Regions from separate parts of the Homo sapiens genome. Here regions 1, 2, 4 and 5 are each linked to region 3. Evidence: promoter capture Hi-C in 16 types of primary human blood cells and fetal thymus (Javierre and others, 2016). All regions are on one chromosome and are shown on one strand. Each heading gives the region's core, a stretch centred on a gene start or on the middle of the fragment in contact. The rest is flanking DNA. Distances are from core to core; before and after follow the strand shown. Region 1 overlaps UBE2W (ubiquitin conjugating enzyme E2 W). Region 2 overlaps UBE2W (ubiquitin conjugating enzyme E2 W). Region 3 holds the start of LY96 (lymphocyte antigen 96). Region 4 overlaps UBE2W (ubiquitin conjugating enzyme E2 W). Region 5 overlaps UBE2W (ubiquitin conjugating enzyme E2 W).

Region 1 (2,700 bases), core at 154-2,653, 200 kb after region 3:
ATTGTTTATGTAAAGGCAAATTGGTGGTCAGGTTCAAGGTAAAATGGATTATTGGGTTGATTAGTAGCCAAAAACTAAATGCATGTTCAGGTCAAAATGAATTTGTTTGTTTTAGTTGGTGCCATTTTCCTTTTATTATTCAGAACTACAGAGTGTGCATTTTATTAATAGGAATGAAAGCTCATGCTTGAGGATTTGAATAGGGTGGATGTATATATTTTATAAACTCAAGTTGCAAAATATGTAAAGTCACTACTTTTTAAATAGAATATAAATGTTAAAACAGACAAATCTATGTTATATATTTTTTAATACATGTATCAGACTTGTTAGTTGAATGCAGATTACTTTGCTTTATGGAATTTCATAACTTTTAATAATAAAGCAGTTGTTATTGGATTTTTTCTGTAGACTTGAATACTAAATGGGATAGATACCAGACCTCTTTTTGGTTTATGACGTAAAAGTATTTGTACAGTAGTTTCTCTTCACAAAAGACTGAATTTTAAAGGATTATAGAAACAGGAACATGTCCATTTCCAAAATGAGTGCAACAGAATGAAGATAGTCACTTAAACCATCTATTTAACACATCACCTTTATGTAATATGTAGCTAGTTTTAGTGTTTTAATAAGTCCCAACTAAAGACTGAGTGTTTTCAGTGAAGATGGAAATGGAGACCCAGGCACTTGCTTAGAGTTATCGTGAGTCCGATGTTCCTGAACTTCAAGTTGTACAATTAAGGGCATACTCTAAGAACTTCTGGATGCTTTCTGGAGTATACAAACAGATCAACTAATGACTTAAATGAGTGACTCTTGAAGCTGCAAGAAGAGGAAAGAAATAACCACAAGAAGGGGCTATCTCAGCATCTGTTATTCCTGACAGGAGGAATTAAATATGCTCTGCTGGTAATTCTAAGCTTTTCTGCAGGGGATCTGCTTGCCCCAGGAGCACCTTAGTCCTCATTGAGGCAGCCATTCTGCCATAAAAACGATCATGTCTCAAGCTGTTCCTGCCGTCCTACACAACTATGTTAGTAGATGGTTAGATAAATATATGAACCATCTTTTGTACTTTGATGATGCCCTTTTCCTTTATTATAATCCTTAATTTCTACTTTCCATAGTAGGATTTGACTTTTCTCCATTAGTTTAAGCTACCCTGGATAAGTGACTCTGTTTATGTCCTCCCTATATTTCTTACTCATTTTCACACTAACATAACACGTAACAAAATTAAACATAAGCTAAATTGAAGAAGCAAGTGAGACAGCTAAGAGTTTTGTGTACTTGGACAACAAAGCTCAAAGCCACTGTGGTTATCTGTCCTGTTGGGAGCCCCTTTCAACCATTTTTTTAGTTGCCTGTAAGATTTATTTTTAATGTTTGCCTGCATAATGCAAAATACATAAGTGGGAATCCCTACGCCCTTTACAGTTAAGTGGATTATGGAAATAATAAGGAAAGTTTATCAACTAAGGTAGGAAATATCTTCTCATGTCTGTATCTGGCCTTCAGGGACTTAATGTGGGTGAATATATGTCATTAGACAAGATCCTAATATAGATGGCTGTATCCTGCAGATAGCCAATTCAACATTAAAATTTTATGTTTCCATACCTCAATGAAAACATATTTCTTTTATCCTGTTATAATTTAATGACATTCCCATCCAACTTAATCAAGCAATGATACTCAGTAGTCCTCTCCTTGCATTTTTCAAGTCCTGTTGAGTGTAACTTTAAAATGTCTCTGAGATTTCTACCTTCTCTCCAGTCTCCTTACCATTAGGGCCTTTCACTACCTGGCCTTGGTGTCCCTAGGCTGCTCTTCAGCTGTCCACAAACCTTGTTTCATAAGCAGTAGCAATGCAAGCTTCCACTGCCGTCTGCTAATGTTCTTCCCTCCTAGAATGTTCATGATCTGCGTTTCTACCTGAAAGGTCTAGTTCAAAGGTAGCTGAAAGGTTATCATCCTTGTCCTTTCTTCTCTCCCTACCAGTCATCTATCCTGAACTTTTTAACAGTAGGGACAGTGTTGCAATTGTGTTTGTGTCCCCAGCACGTAGCACACAGTACCTAGTATACAGTACCTGTAGCACATAGGCATTTAATAAGTGTGTATTGAATTAACTTGGTTATGCTTGTATTTTTATCCTAGCTTTCTCAAAGAAACTTAGGTGCTAGCTATTTTGAAACATATATCCAGAACCACCACCTGAGTAAAATGTATAACAGGACCCTGCTCTTTCTATCCCAGAGAGTTTGAGAAAACTACTTTTAAATAAATCATTAATCATTCTTCATTGGTTTTGGCTTTTTTTATAGGTGTTTCTCATATCTTTATCTCTGAGGCAAATTGCTTGTCACAAATTAATTGTTTTAAACTAAATACATCTCAGGAACCATAAAATCATAAAGGTAAACCTGACATAGAGTTTAAAAACCAGCATTAAGCAGATAATTATTGTGTGCCTTTCATATGCCAAGAAGGATGGCAGATGAGGTATATATCTTCAAAGGGCATATGTAATAAGGGAGATAATAAATAGAAAAGCATATCATATAAAATGTGACAAGCCTTAAGAGGTGCAGATAGTTTCTGATTATCAAAGAAACATGTCTGTGAAAAGTACTGTCATGCATAAAGATGGGCCAGGCACAGTGGCTTACGCCTGTAATCCCAGTACTTTGGGCA
Region 2 (2,700 bases), core at 4-2,503, 190 kb after region 3:
TCTGCCCACCTGGGCATCCCAAAGTTCTGGGATTACAGGCGTGAGCCACCACGCCCAGCACTACACCAGATTTTTAATGGGGCAAACAAAATCATAGCCATCATAAAAGTAAAATGTAAAATTACTTTGACATTCGGAGACTCTACCATTGTATTACAGAAAAGAAGTTGTTAATAATCTTTAGATCAAATTAGAACTATTTACTGGGAGCCCAGGCATGGTGGCCTACGCCTGTAATCCCAGCACTTTGGGAGGCAGAGGTGGGCAGATCACTTGAGGTCAGGAGTTCAAGACTAGCTTGGTCAACATGGTGAAACTTCGTCTCTACTAAAAGTACAAAAATTAGATGGGCGTGGTGGCTTGCAGCTAATTCCACTGGAGGCTGATGCATGAGAATCACTTGAACCCTGGTGGCGAAGGTTGAAGTGAGCTGAGATCACGCTACTCTACTCCAGCCTGGGTGACAGTGATGGAATGAGACTCTATCTCCAAAGGAAAAAAAAAAAAGAACTAGTTACTGGGAAGTCTGTTGTTTGAAATAGAAGTTTTGATGCCTTGTTTGTTCATTTAGTTCTGGTAGTATTCATGGCCGGGAGGAGGCGGGAGTCACAGTAAGGGGTACCTCATTAAATTAGAAAGCTCTCTATTCTAATCATTATCCCTTAAAAAAAAAAAAGTGAGATTCTGCTGATTGTAGTTGTATTAATAAAGTACTCTCTAATTTTAAATTTCTATTGTATTTGTTGGGATGGTAATGATAATTCAGAGCTGCTAGTATTTCTAAACTAACCTTAATGCTTCCCTGAAGAGTTATTTGAAATTAAAAACAAAAAGTCTGTATTCTTCAATGTAGTTTTTGAAGCAAGTAAACAAAAACCATCCCCTGTGATTTTTGTATACATAAGAGTATTGCCTTTGGGGTTTTTTATGTGTGTGGGTTTTTTTTTTTTTTTAATGTTAACCTGATAATAAATTAGAACTAGCAAAAACTAATTGAACTATGACCTTCTCCCCGTATCTTCTATCCAGTGTGAAGCCTTCTGTATCCTCACCTAAATTGAGTGAATTAAAAACTTAAAAGTTCCCCAGGTGTTGAACGAAAAGATGACCCGAGTCAGTGCAATAGAACTATGCCAGTAGTTAAAAATTAGAAAACACAAAGAAGTGGCCGGGCGTGGTGGCTCATGCCTGTAATCCCAGCACTTTGGGAGGCTGAGGTGGGTGGATCACGAGACCAGGAGATTGAGACCATCCTGGCTAACACGGTGAAACCCTGTCTCTACTAAAAATACAAAAAATTAGCCGGGCGTGGTGGCAGGCGCCTGTAGTCCCAGTTACTCGGGAGGCCGAGTCAGGAGAATGGCATGAACCCAGGAGGCGGAGCTCATAGTGAGCGGAGATCGCGCCACTGCACTCCAGCCTGGGCGACAGAGCAAGCCTCCGTCTCAAAAAAAAAAAAAAAGAAAAGAAAAAAGAAAACAAAGAAATATGCTGTTCCTGAGAGACAGAAATGTGAAAATTTGGGGTAATATCAATAAGAAATACATATGACTTAGAAGAAGAAGAAAATGGCAAAACTTTAAGAGCTGTGAAATAAAAATACGTGTATTTTACAAACTGTAGGTTCGATGGAGTTCATTACAAATCCAGTGAATGATTGTGGGGGTGGGAAGGGAGATAGGTGTTTGAAAAGTTTGGGAAAAAAATAGTAGATGAGAAGAACAAAGTTTGAATTTTGAGCCATAAAGGTAATGGAGAATTAATCTACCAGACAGGACACTAAAAATACTAATAGAAGAACAGATCATTGAAATACAGTTCCTCTTATTTAGGCCCAGTTGAATATAACATTTGAATATATGATAAGGCATTACAAATCAGTGATAAGGGGAAGGATTATTTAGTAAGTAATCATCTTGGAAAATCTGTAATCCTTTGGAGAAGGAATATTTTCACTGCATAAAATATTTCTTGTGGGTTCAGTATTTGTATTTATTTATTTTTTATTTATTTTTTGAGATGAAGTCTCGCTCTGTTGCCCAGGCTGGAGTGCAGTGGCGTGATCTAGGCTCACTGCATCCTCTGCCTCCTGGGTTCAAGCAATTCTCCTGCCCTCAGCCTCCCTAGTAGCTGGGATTACAGGCGCGCCACCATGCCCAGCTGATTTTTGTATTTTTATTTTTATTTTTGTTTATTTATTTATTTATTTTGAGACGGAGTCTTGCTGTCGCCCAGGCTGGAGTGCAGTTTCGCAACTTCGGCTCACTGCAAGCTCCACCTCCCAGGGTTCACACCATTCTCCTGCCTCAGCCTCCCGCGTAGCTGGGACTACAGGCGCCCGCCACCTCGCTCGGCTAATTTTTTGTATTTTTAGTAGAGACGGGGTTTCACTGTGTTAGCCAGGATGGTCTTGATCTCCTGACCTCGTGATCCACCCACCTCGGCCTCCCAAAGTGCTGGGATTACAGGCATGAGCCTCCACACCCGGCCAATTTTTGTATTTTTAGTAGAGACGGGTTTTGCCATGTTGGCCAGGCTGGTCTCGAACTCCTGACCTCAGGGTGATCGCCTGCCTCAGCCTCCCAAAGTGCTGGGATTACAGGCGTGAGCCACTGCGCCTGGCCTATTTTTAAAATATAACCAAAAAAATGTTTTTTTTCAATGTTGGGTATCAGCTCTCTGGAGAAAGGAAGAATTTCT
Region 3 (2,700 bases), core at 128-2,627:
GAGCCTTGCTGGAAGAGGGGAATGCAAAAGGATCTTGCAGCATGGAGAGATTTTAGACATACGTTTGGAGGGAATTCAGTGCAACCCACCAGGAGAAGGGCCATGGTGTGTGACTGGCCACACTCCTAAGTCTCCTCCTCACATGTGGCAATTATCCCAATTTCCCGAAAGTCACTTTATATTAGCATTTGGCAGAGCATGTTTCTCAAGAGAGTTAACATACACTCCAGACTAAAACACAAACAAACAAACAACAAATGAAATTGAAAATGTGGTTAAACAGGTGCCTTTATTGCAGAACTTCTCAGAACCCAAAGTACATCTGTAAATCTCTCCCAGATGATTAGGTCATAGATCCTATTTTCCCAAAAGAATCTCAAAGAACTGGTATTTTGGGAAGCACCACTTTAAACCTCCCAGCTATTGCTAGTGGGTGGAAAAGGGCAGCCAACCCATGGTAAGCAGCACGGTGGAAAGTACCGAACCAAAACAGCTGTCAGGCCTGACACTGTGCCTTCAGATCCCAGGACACTTGCTAATGAGCAGCTGGGGCAGGGGACAGTGACACAGCCAGTGAATAGTATTAGGGTATGGCTGACTCCAAAAAAAAATTAAGAGTATTATTGTCTCTATGTGACCCTATGCTAAAAAACTTCACCTCACAACACCCTTATCAAGTAGACTATAAAATCACTTTCACTTCAGTGCTAAAAAGGCTGGAGTACTTTGCTTAAGGTCACACAGCTAGTGACAGAACCAGGCTTTCATCCAGTGAGGGGGATGATTCCAAGAGCACTCAAGAGTCACAGCTTAGAGCAGAAATCAACTCCAGGAAGCAGCTGGGACTGCTCTACCATCTCAAGAAGAAGAACTAGTAAGTGTCAAGGCTGAGGTGAAAGCTCAGAAGCAGATGGTTTTATTAAAAATGGGCAGAACCAAAAACTGGGCTCAGGGTAGAGAAAGATGACGCAGGGAACAGAAGCACTTGGAGGTCAAGCACAACACAGTTTAGAGACTCACAAGCTCTGTGAGTGGTCGAGAACATTCTCATGGGGCAGCTGCCAGCTATTGCTTTTCCTGCTGGCAGCGTCCGCCACAGCAGCTGGAACACACTGATGTTTCGTGTGTTCCAGCCACAACAGTGTACGGTTCTCGTGAAAACTTACCCTCAAAATAGTTGATGCTACAATTATTTGTTTTGCGGTTTTACTTACCACAGTAGGTGTATGAAATACTTGCATCGGATGAGTTGCAGACCCAATACTGCTTCTGAGCTTCAGTAAATATGGAAGAAAACAGGGTGGAAAAAAACAGAAATGGTAACATGATTCAATATCTCCAAAGCTTTACAAATGCAAAGAGGATCAGTAACTAATCATCAGACTCTTCCTTTTCAGTAAGCAGAAAAGATTTAACTTAGTCATCAGTCACATGATTTCTGAGTTCCTATCCAACTGTTTCCTCTTTTTTTGTGTGTGTGTGCTCAACATTTGAGCACTTCCTGTAAAGGAAGAGAGAAAAATGATTTAGAATGTACTCTTCAAACACTTACTGTAAATGAGAGTGATCAAAGACTTAAAAATAAAACAAGACACTTTGGCCAGGCACGGTGGCTCATGCCTGTAATCTCAGTATTTTGGGAGGCTGAGGCAGGTGGATCACTTGAGGTCAGGAGTTCAAGACCAGCCTGGCTGACATGATGAAACACATCTCTACTAAAAATACAAAAATTAGCCAGGTGTGGTAGTGCATGCCTGTAATCCCAGCTATTCAGGAGGCTGAGGCAGGAGCTTCACTTTATCTGGGAGGCAGAGGTTGCAGTGAGCCAAGATGGCACCACTGCTCTCCAGCCTGGGCAACAGAGCAAGACTCCATTTCAAAAAAATTTTTTAAATGAAAAATAAAATAAAATAAACAAGACAATTCCCAGTCAACTGTAACAAAACCAGTCCCTAGGTCCCCCTGAAAGTCTCAACAGACAGGCACTCCTTTTCCCTCTGCATTATTCTTCTCTCCTACAGCTCTGTATAACAGCAGTCCCCAACATTTTTGGCCTCAGGGATCAGTTTCATGGAAGACAATTTTTCCACGGACTGAGGGGATGGGGAGGGATGGTTTCAGGGTGAAACTGTTCCACCTCAGAACATCAGGCATTAGATTCTTATAGGGAGCACGCAACCTAGATCCCTCGCTTGTATACTTCATAACAAGGTTCCTGCTCCCATGGGAATCTAATGCTGCTGCTGGTCTGACAGGAGCTGGAGCTCAGGTGGTAATGCTCGCTCACCTGCTGTTAACCTCCAGCTGTGCAGCCCACTTCCTAACAAGCCACAACCAGATTCCTAACAGGCCATGGACTGGTACTGGTCCACGGCCCCCAGAGGATGGGGCCTCCTGCTTTATAAAACAAATTCTCAGCTGGGCACGGTGGCTCATGCCTGTCATCCCAGCATTTTGGGATACCAAGGTGGGTGGATCACTTGAGGTCAGGAGTTCAAGACCAGCCTGGCCAACATGGTGAAATTCCGTCTCTACTAAAAATATAAAAATTAGCCAGGCATGGTGGCACACACCTGTAATCCCAGCTACTCGGGAGGCTGAGGCAGGAGAATCGCTTGAACCCAGGAGGCAGAGGTTGCAGTGAGCCAAGATTGGGCCACTACACTCCAGCCTGGGCAACAGAGTGAGACTCGGTCTCAA
Region 4 (2,700 bases), core at 22-2,521, 150 kb after region 3:
CATTCTGGACCTGACTGGCTTTTTTGGATGGAAGAATAAAAAAAAGGAAACAGCCTCTTCTGGAATGAGATTCTTTTGCAAATAACTTTAGGCCTTTTCGCCCTGGGGAGGATAGATGTCTGTGCACTCCTATGCAAATTCTGGGAATAAAGTGCATATTTAAAGATTTGCTGAAGTCATGTGTTTTGGGGTAGGTGTTAAATACCAAGATAAGAATCAGTTATTAAATTTACTCAGGGCTGGGGGTGCAATGGCTTGCGCCTGTAATCCTAGCACTTTGGGAGGCTGGGGTGGGAGGATCACTTGAGACCAGGCCAGGCAGCACAGCTAAAACCTGTCTCTACAAAGTATATATTTTTAAATCAATTTTAAAAAGTTAACTCAGAAACATACTCGAAGTTTTATTTTTCAGTAGACTTAGGAAAATTAAACTCTTTAATACCACTTCATAATTTTTTTTTTTTTAAGACAAGAGTCTCACTCTGTTGCCCAAGCTTGAGTGCAGTGGCACGATCTTGGCTCACTGGAACCTCCGCCTTCTGGGTTCAAACATTTCTCCTGCCTCAGCCTCCTGAGTAGCTGGGATTACAGACACTTACCACCACGCCTGGCTAATTTTTATGTTTTTAGTAGAGACAGGGTTTCACTATGTTGGCCAGGCTGATCTCGAACTCCTGACCTCAGGTGATGCACCTGCCTCGGCCTCCCAGAGTGCTGGGATTACAGGCATGAGCCACCGCACCCGACCCACTTCATTTTTTTAAATGCACTTTTTCCATATTTTAACATCTTTCAAATCAGGATATGTGTTATTGAAGGTGTGTCATTGTTTAATTGGCAGCAGTTTTTCTTTCCTAGTGACACATAAAATGATGATGCATCTTACAATTGATGGCGTGTCTTAGATTCAGAGGAGAGTAGTATATTTGTGGTTAATTTTCCCATACCTCACCAATTTTGGGACAGACAAGGGTAATATTTGGCTATGAACCACTGGAACCTAATTTCTCATGTCCTCTTCTCCCTTTTCCCCCATGGTTTCTGGGTGTTTCTGCTGCTTTACTTACAGTACTTAACATTCTGCAGTTATTTTCCATTTTGTAGTTATCTCAATCTGTAGCTGCCATTTTCCCTACCACTTGGGAAAGCAGGCCAGTATGGCCATGATGGTTTTATAAGCCAGTGGTGTCATACCTTTAGCAAGTGTTCTGTCCTAAATACTAGTGTTTCTTAACAAATTTGTTAATACTTTGTCTTCATTTATAGGTGAATGCAGCCTCATGTGATTATAGCTTTCTGGATTGTGTGACCTCTAAAAGGTCATACTAGTTCTTCATATTTACAAACAAAATGTGAATTTTCATTTATCTTTACATGCAGCTCTTTAAATCATTTTCTTTCAGCTCTTCCATGTCTACATTTGGGAAACTTAGAACTAGTTTTTTAGAATCACGACTTCAGGATTTTTCCTGCCCTGTCTAATGAACTGTTGTTCTGGGAAGAATGCAACTAAGGGTGAATTCTGTTTTTGTGAATCTGCAGAACAGATACTACACATTGCTTGACCTTTCACTGTTTGTATCTTTTTAAAAAATGTTTTATTTGTGAATGTAGTATGTACTCATTTAACCCCCCAAATGCTGGCCCTTCTCTCTCACTATTTCAGGGGATGTGAATATGCAAGGCAGTTTATTGCCTAGTAGCTAAGAAGGCTGGGGGCTGGCATGAATTGTCTTTTTTTAATGTAATAATTCCACCCCCTCAGTAAAAAAGCATGGTCCAGTGAATGTCTTAGATTGTGACTTAGTGATATTGATGAGGAAGTAGATGACAGTCCCTTCTGGGATGGAGGGGAGGATGGAGCAGTGGTCCTGTATTATCTATCAGTGCGTAACAAACCCTTAAACTTAGCGATTTAAAACAACAAATGTTATTTCACAGTTCCGAGGGTCAGGAATCAGAGGCATAGTTGTTTGATTCTGGCTTAGGGTCCCTCTTGAGTTTGCAGGTAAGGTACTGGCTAAGATAGTAGTCATCTGAAAGCTTGATTTGAATTGAAGGATTTGCCTACAAATCATCACATGGTTATTGGTAGGAGGTTTCAGTTCCTCACTATGAAGGCCTCTGAATTAGGCTGTTCTCAACATGATAGCTTGATTCCTCCAGAGCAAGTGATTTGAGAGAGAGAATTACCAAGACAGAAACCATAGTGTTTTGTTTTGTTTTGTTGTTTTTTGAGGCAAAGTCTCGCTCTCTCGCCCAGGCTGGAGTGCAGCAGCTTGATCTCACTCACTGCAACCTCTGCCTCCCGGGTACAAGCAATTCTCCTGTCTCAGCCTCCCGAGTAGCCGAGATTACAGACGCATGCCACCACGCCCAGCTGATTTTTTGTATTTTTAGTAGAGACAGGTTTTCACCATATTAGTCAGGCTGGTCCCGAATTCCTGACCTCAGGTGATTCACCCACCTCGGCCTCCCAAAGTACTGGGATTACAGGCATGAGCCATCGCACCCGGCCACAGAAACCATAGTTTTTAAAATAATCTAATCTTGGGAGTGACACACCATTTCTGCTGTATTCCATTGGTCACACAGATCAGCTCTGAGGGAGGGAACTACACAAGGGTGTGAATACTAGGACCTTTAGAGTTTGTTGGGAATTATCTTGAAAGTTGGCTATCATAGGTCCCTTCCTTTGTG
Region 5 (2,840 bases), core at 147-2,646, 170 kb after region 3:
ATGGCACACCCAGCTAATTTTTATATTTTTTGTAGAGATGGGGTCTTGCCATGTTGCCCAGACTAGTCTCGAGCTCCTGGGCTCAAGCGATCAGCCCACCTCCTTGGCCTCCCAAAGTGCTGGGATTACATGTGTGAGCCACCATGCCTGGCCTAGTCCAGGTTTTTATCTTTTATTTGAACCATTACAGTAGCCTTTAGTTCTTTGAATTCCTACATCCTTTCACGGTGCCAATAGATTTGTTTGAAGGCACAGTTATCTCACTGGTTACATACCACACACATGGACATGCACACACATCCCCCCCCCCCCACACACACACTCCCACACCCCACTCCACCCCCCCACCACACACACACTCTGTCTCACTCCACCATCCCCAGAATTCCTCACCCCCTGACAGTAAAACCTCTTAATGTTTATTTCCTATGGAATCAAGTTTTTAGCCTGGCATTCAAGTCCCTGTATAGTCACATCCAAACTTAACTTTTTCTGCACCTGCATGCATTCTGTATGGTAATATTTCTATATAGTACTTCATAATTTAACTTCCATTCTGATTTTGTTTTCTAACATCTTTTAATGAAGTGGTTAGGGGAGGTAGATTCATCCTCATTTTATATGTGAAGAAATTGAAACTTGTAGAAGTGAAGTGCCTTGTTCACGTTTTAATACCTAGTTTATAGGACAGTCAAGACCCAAACCCAAGTCTTTCCTTTCCTCCTTTGCCATACTGCCAATTAGATGCGAGTACCGGTGTGGAAAAAATGCCTATTTATCTATGTAGTAATTTTCTCTCTGAAAGTGAAAGATTATATGTGGAATGAATGGTACCTTTGAAAGCTCTAGGTCAGTTATTCTCACTCTTTTTGAAATATAAGGATTCCTTTTTTAATTTACTTTTTGGTGGGGTGGGGGTGCGGAGACAGAGTCTCCCTTTGTCATCTACCTATGCTGTGGTGTAATCATAGCTCACTGCAGCCTCCAACTCCTGGGCTCAAGTGATCCTTCCACCTCAGCCTCCAGAGTAGCAGGGACTACAGCCATCTGCCGCCATGCCTGGCTTGGTTTTTTTATTTTGTTTTTTTGTTTGTTTGTTTGTTTGTTTGTTTGTTTTTTATTTTTTTGAGACAGAGTCTCGCTCTGTTGCCCAGGCTGGAGTGCAGTGGTGTGATCTCTGCTCACTGCAACCTCTGCCTCCTGGGCTTAAACCATTCTCCCACCTCAGCCTCTCTGAGTAGCTGCAACTACAGGTATGCACCACCATGCCTGGCTTATTTTTTTTTGTATTTTTGGTAGAAACAAGGTTTCACCATGTTGGTCCAGCTGGTCTTGAACTCCTGTCCTAAAGTGATCTGCTCGCCTCGGCCTGTCAAAGTACTGGGATCATAGGCACGCCCAGTGAGGATTCCTTTTTAATATCAGTTAATTCTGTAGTCCCTCACATGGCATAGAGGTTGTATATTCTAATATCCATTGATTGGGAAAATGGCAGAACTACTCTGAGGCCAGTAATACGTTAAAATTTTTTAAAATGTATTTATACATAATCTATATAGTTTTAACATAATTATAATGGGTCAAACATCAATGCTTGATGTGCTTATAGACTTCAAGATTTTTCCAATAACTGAAACTTTGCAGAGATCCACTGCCCTGGGAAAGTGGCTAGAACCAGTCCTCTAGGGCAGTAAAATTCCCCCAAAATTTTATTTGATGAAACTCTGTAGCATTAGCACTTGTTACCTAAATTAGTCTTTCATCTTTCTGGCTGGGCATGGTACTCATGCCTGTAATCCAAGCACTTTGAGAGGCCAAGGCAGCCCAGGAGTTTTGGGACCAGCCTGGGCAACGTAGGGCAACCCCATCTCTAATAAAAAAAAGAAAGAAAAGTCTTTCATCTTTCTATGCAATGAACAGTACTGAGTTTATCACTAGTTACAAGAGTAGAATTTGGAAAATATTTCTAGAATAGATGAATCTCATTGTGAAATTACTGCTTTTGTACCTGTAAATGAGATCAGTAAGACTGTCACACACCATTATGGTTTGTTGTGTTTTTCTTCCTGCCAGTTATATTTTATGTCTCATGTTGTGTCCTGCCTTATAATGAAAAAGTTACCTCTCTAAAATATGTTTGGCTCAGTCATTTGCCTTAAAAGAAAGAATAACAACAAACAATTTGTCTGTTAATATGGAAACAGAGATGAGGCATCTTTTCATCACTGCTTGCCGCTAATGTACACTTACTGTCAGCCATACAGAAAATAGCTTTCTATGTACATATTCTGCTTTTTTATGCTAGGATACAGGTAAATGGTTGGTTAATTCAACATGTATTGGGCATGAATTATGTATCAAATACTGTTTCTTGAGAGAGGGGAGAGAGTACAGAGTTTTAAAAGGCATTGGGCCTGCCTTTAAACAGTTTATAATCTGTTTAGTATTTGGATAGGTAAATATTCATTCCGTATTTCTTGAGGATGTGTCATGGGACAGACACTGTGCTGGGTGCTGGTGATTCAATGATGACCAAAACTGCAACAGCAACAAAAACCCTGCTTATATGGAGTTTGCATTCTTGTGGGGAGAGACAGTAAGCAACGAGTAGAATACATATAGTATGGAAGATGGTGAGGGAAAAGTACAGAAGGGGAGATGAGGGTGTTGAAATATTGGATAGAGTCACTGGGAAAGATTTCACTGAGAAGGTGACATTGGAGGAGAGATCTGAAAGATGTGCAGGAGTAAGCCATTTGAAAGGGTTGAGAGAAAGAACAGATGAAGACAAAATGCAAAGGCTCTAAATCTGGAATATGTAGGACGGGTCCCTGGAGTGG

What was found. Contacts are between HindIII fragments. The CHiCAGO score rates a contact against its expected background, and 5 or more counts as called.
Region 1: a contact is called between a fragment that was not itself captured here and the fragment with the promoter of LY96 in region 3, in 2 of 17 cell types (activated CD4 T cells and non-activated CD4 T cells). The highest score is 10.3, in activated CD4 T cells.
Region 2: a fragment that was not itself captured here is called in contact with the fragment with the promoter of LY96 in region 3 in 3 of 17 cell types (activated CD4 T cells, neutrophils and M2 macrophages); the score reaches 12.7 in activated CD4 T cells.
Region 4: a contact is called between a fragment that was not itself captured here and the fragment with the promoter of LY96 in region 3, in 2 of 17 cell types (total B cells and activated CD4 T cells). The highest score is 6.6, in total B cells.
Region 5: a contact is called between a fragment that was not itself captured here and the fragment with the promoter of LY96 in region 3, in 1 of 17 cell types (activated CD4 T cells). The highest score is 6.0, in activated CD4 T cells.

Annotation. Positions count from the first base shown.
Region 1 is chr8:73,785,827-73,788,526 of GRCh38, reverse strand. It overlaps UBE2W (ubiquitin conjugating enzyme E2 W), which reads left to right. Exons shown (of 6, transcript NM_018299.6): 6 at 1-2,308. Among named protein-coding and RNA genes, the nearest start is that of STAU2, 40 kb to the right of the region's middle. The HindIII fragment of the contact is 955 bases long and covers 926-1,880 here.
Region 2 is chr8:73,802,532-73,805,231 of GRCh38, reverse strand. All of the region lies in intron 5 of UBE2W (ubiquitin conjugating enzyme E2 W), which reads left to right. Among named protein-coding and RNA genes, the nearest start is that of STAU2, 57 kb to the right of the region's middle. The HindIII fragment of the contact is 3,630 bases long and covers 1-2,700 here.
Region 3 is chr8:73,990,069-73,992,768 of GRCh38, reverse strand. It overlaps LY96 (lymphocyte antigen 96), which reads right to left and starts at 1,377. Exons shown (of 5, transcript NM_015364.5): 1 at 1,215-1,377. The coding sequence starts at 1,326. RefSeq lists enhancers at 596-665, 1,036-1,135. The HindIII fragment of the contact is 3,298 bases long and covers 1,347-2,700 here.
Region 4 is chr8:73,835,279-73,837,978 of GRCh38, reverse strand. The region is part of intron 1 of UBE2W (ubiquitin conjugating enzyme E2 W); the gene reads left to right. Among named protein-coding and RNA genes, the nearest start is that of UBE2W, 42 kb to the left of the region's middle. The HindIII fragment of the contact is 1,549 bases long and covers 497-2,045 here.
Region 5 is chr8:73,819,029-73,821,868 of GRCh38, reverse strand. All of the region lies in intron 3 of UBE2W (ubiquitin conjugating enzyme E2 W), which reads left to right. Among named protein-coding and RNA genes, the nearest start is that of UBE2W, 58 kb to the left of the region's middle. The HindIII fragment of the contact is 5,947 bases long and covers 1-2,840 here.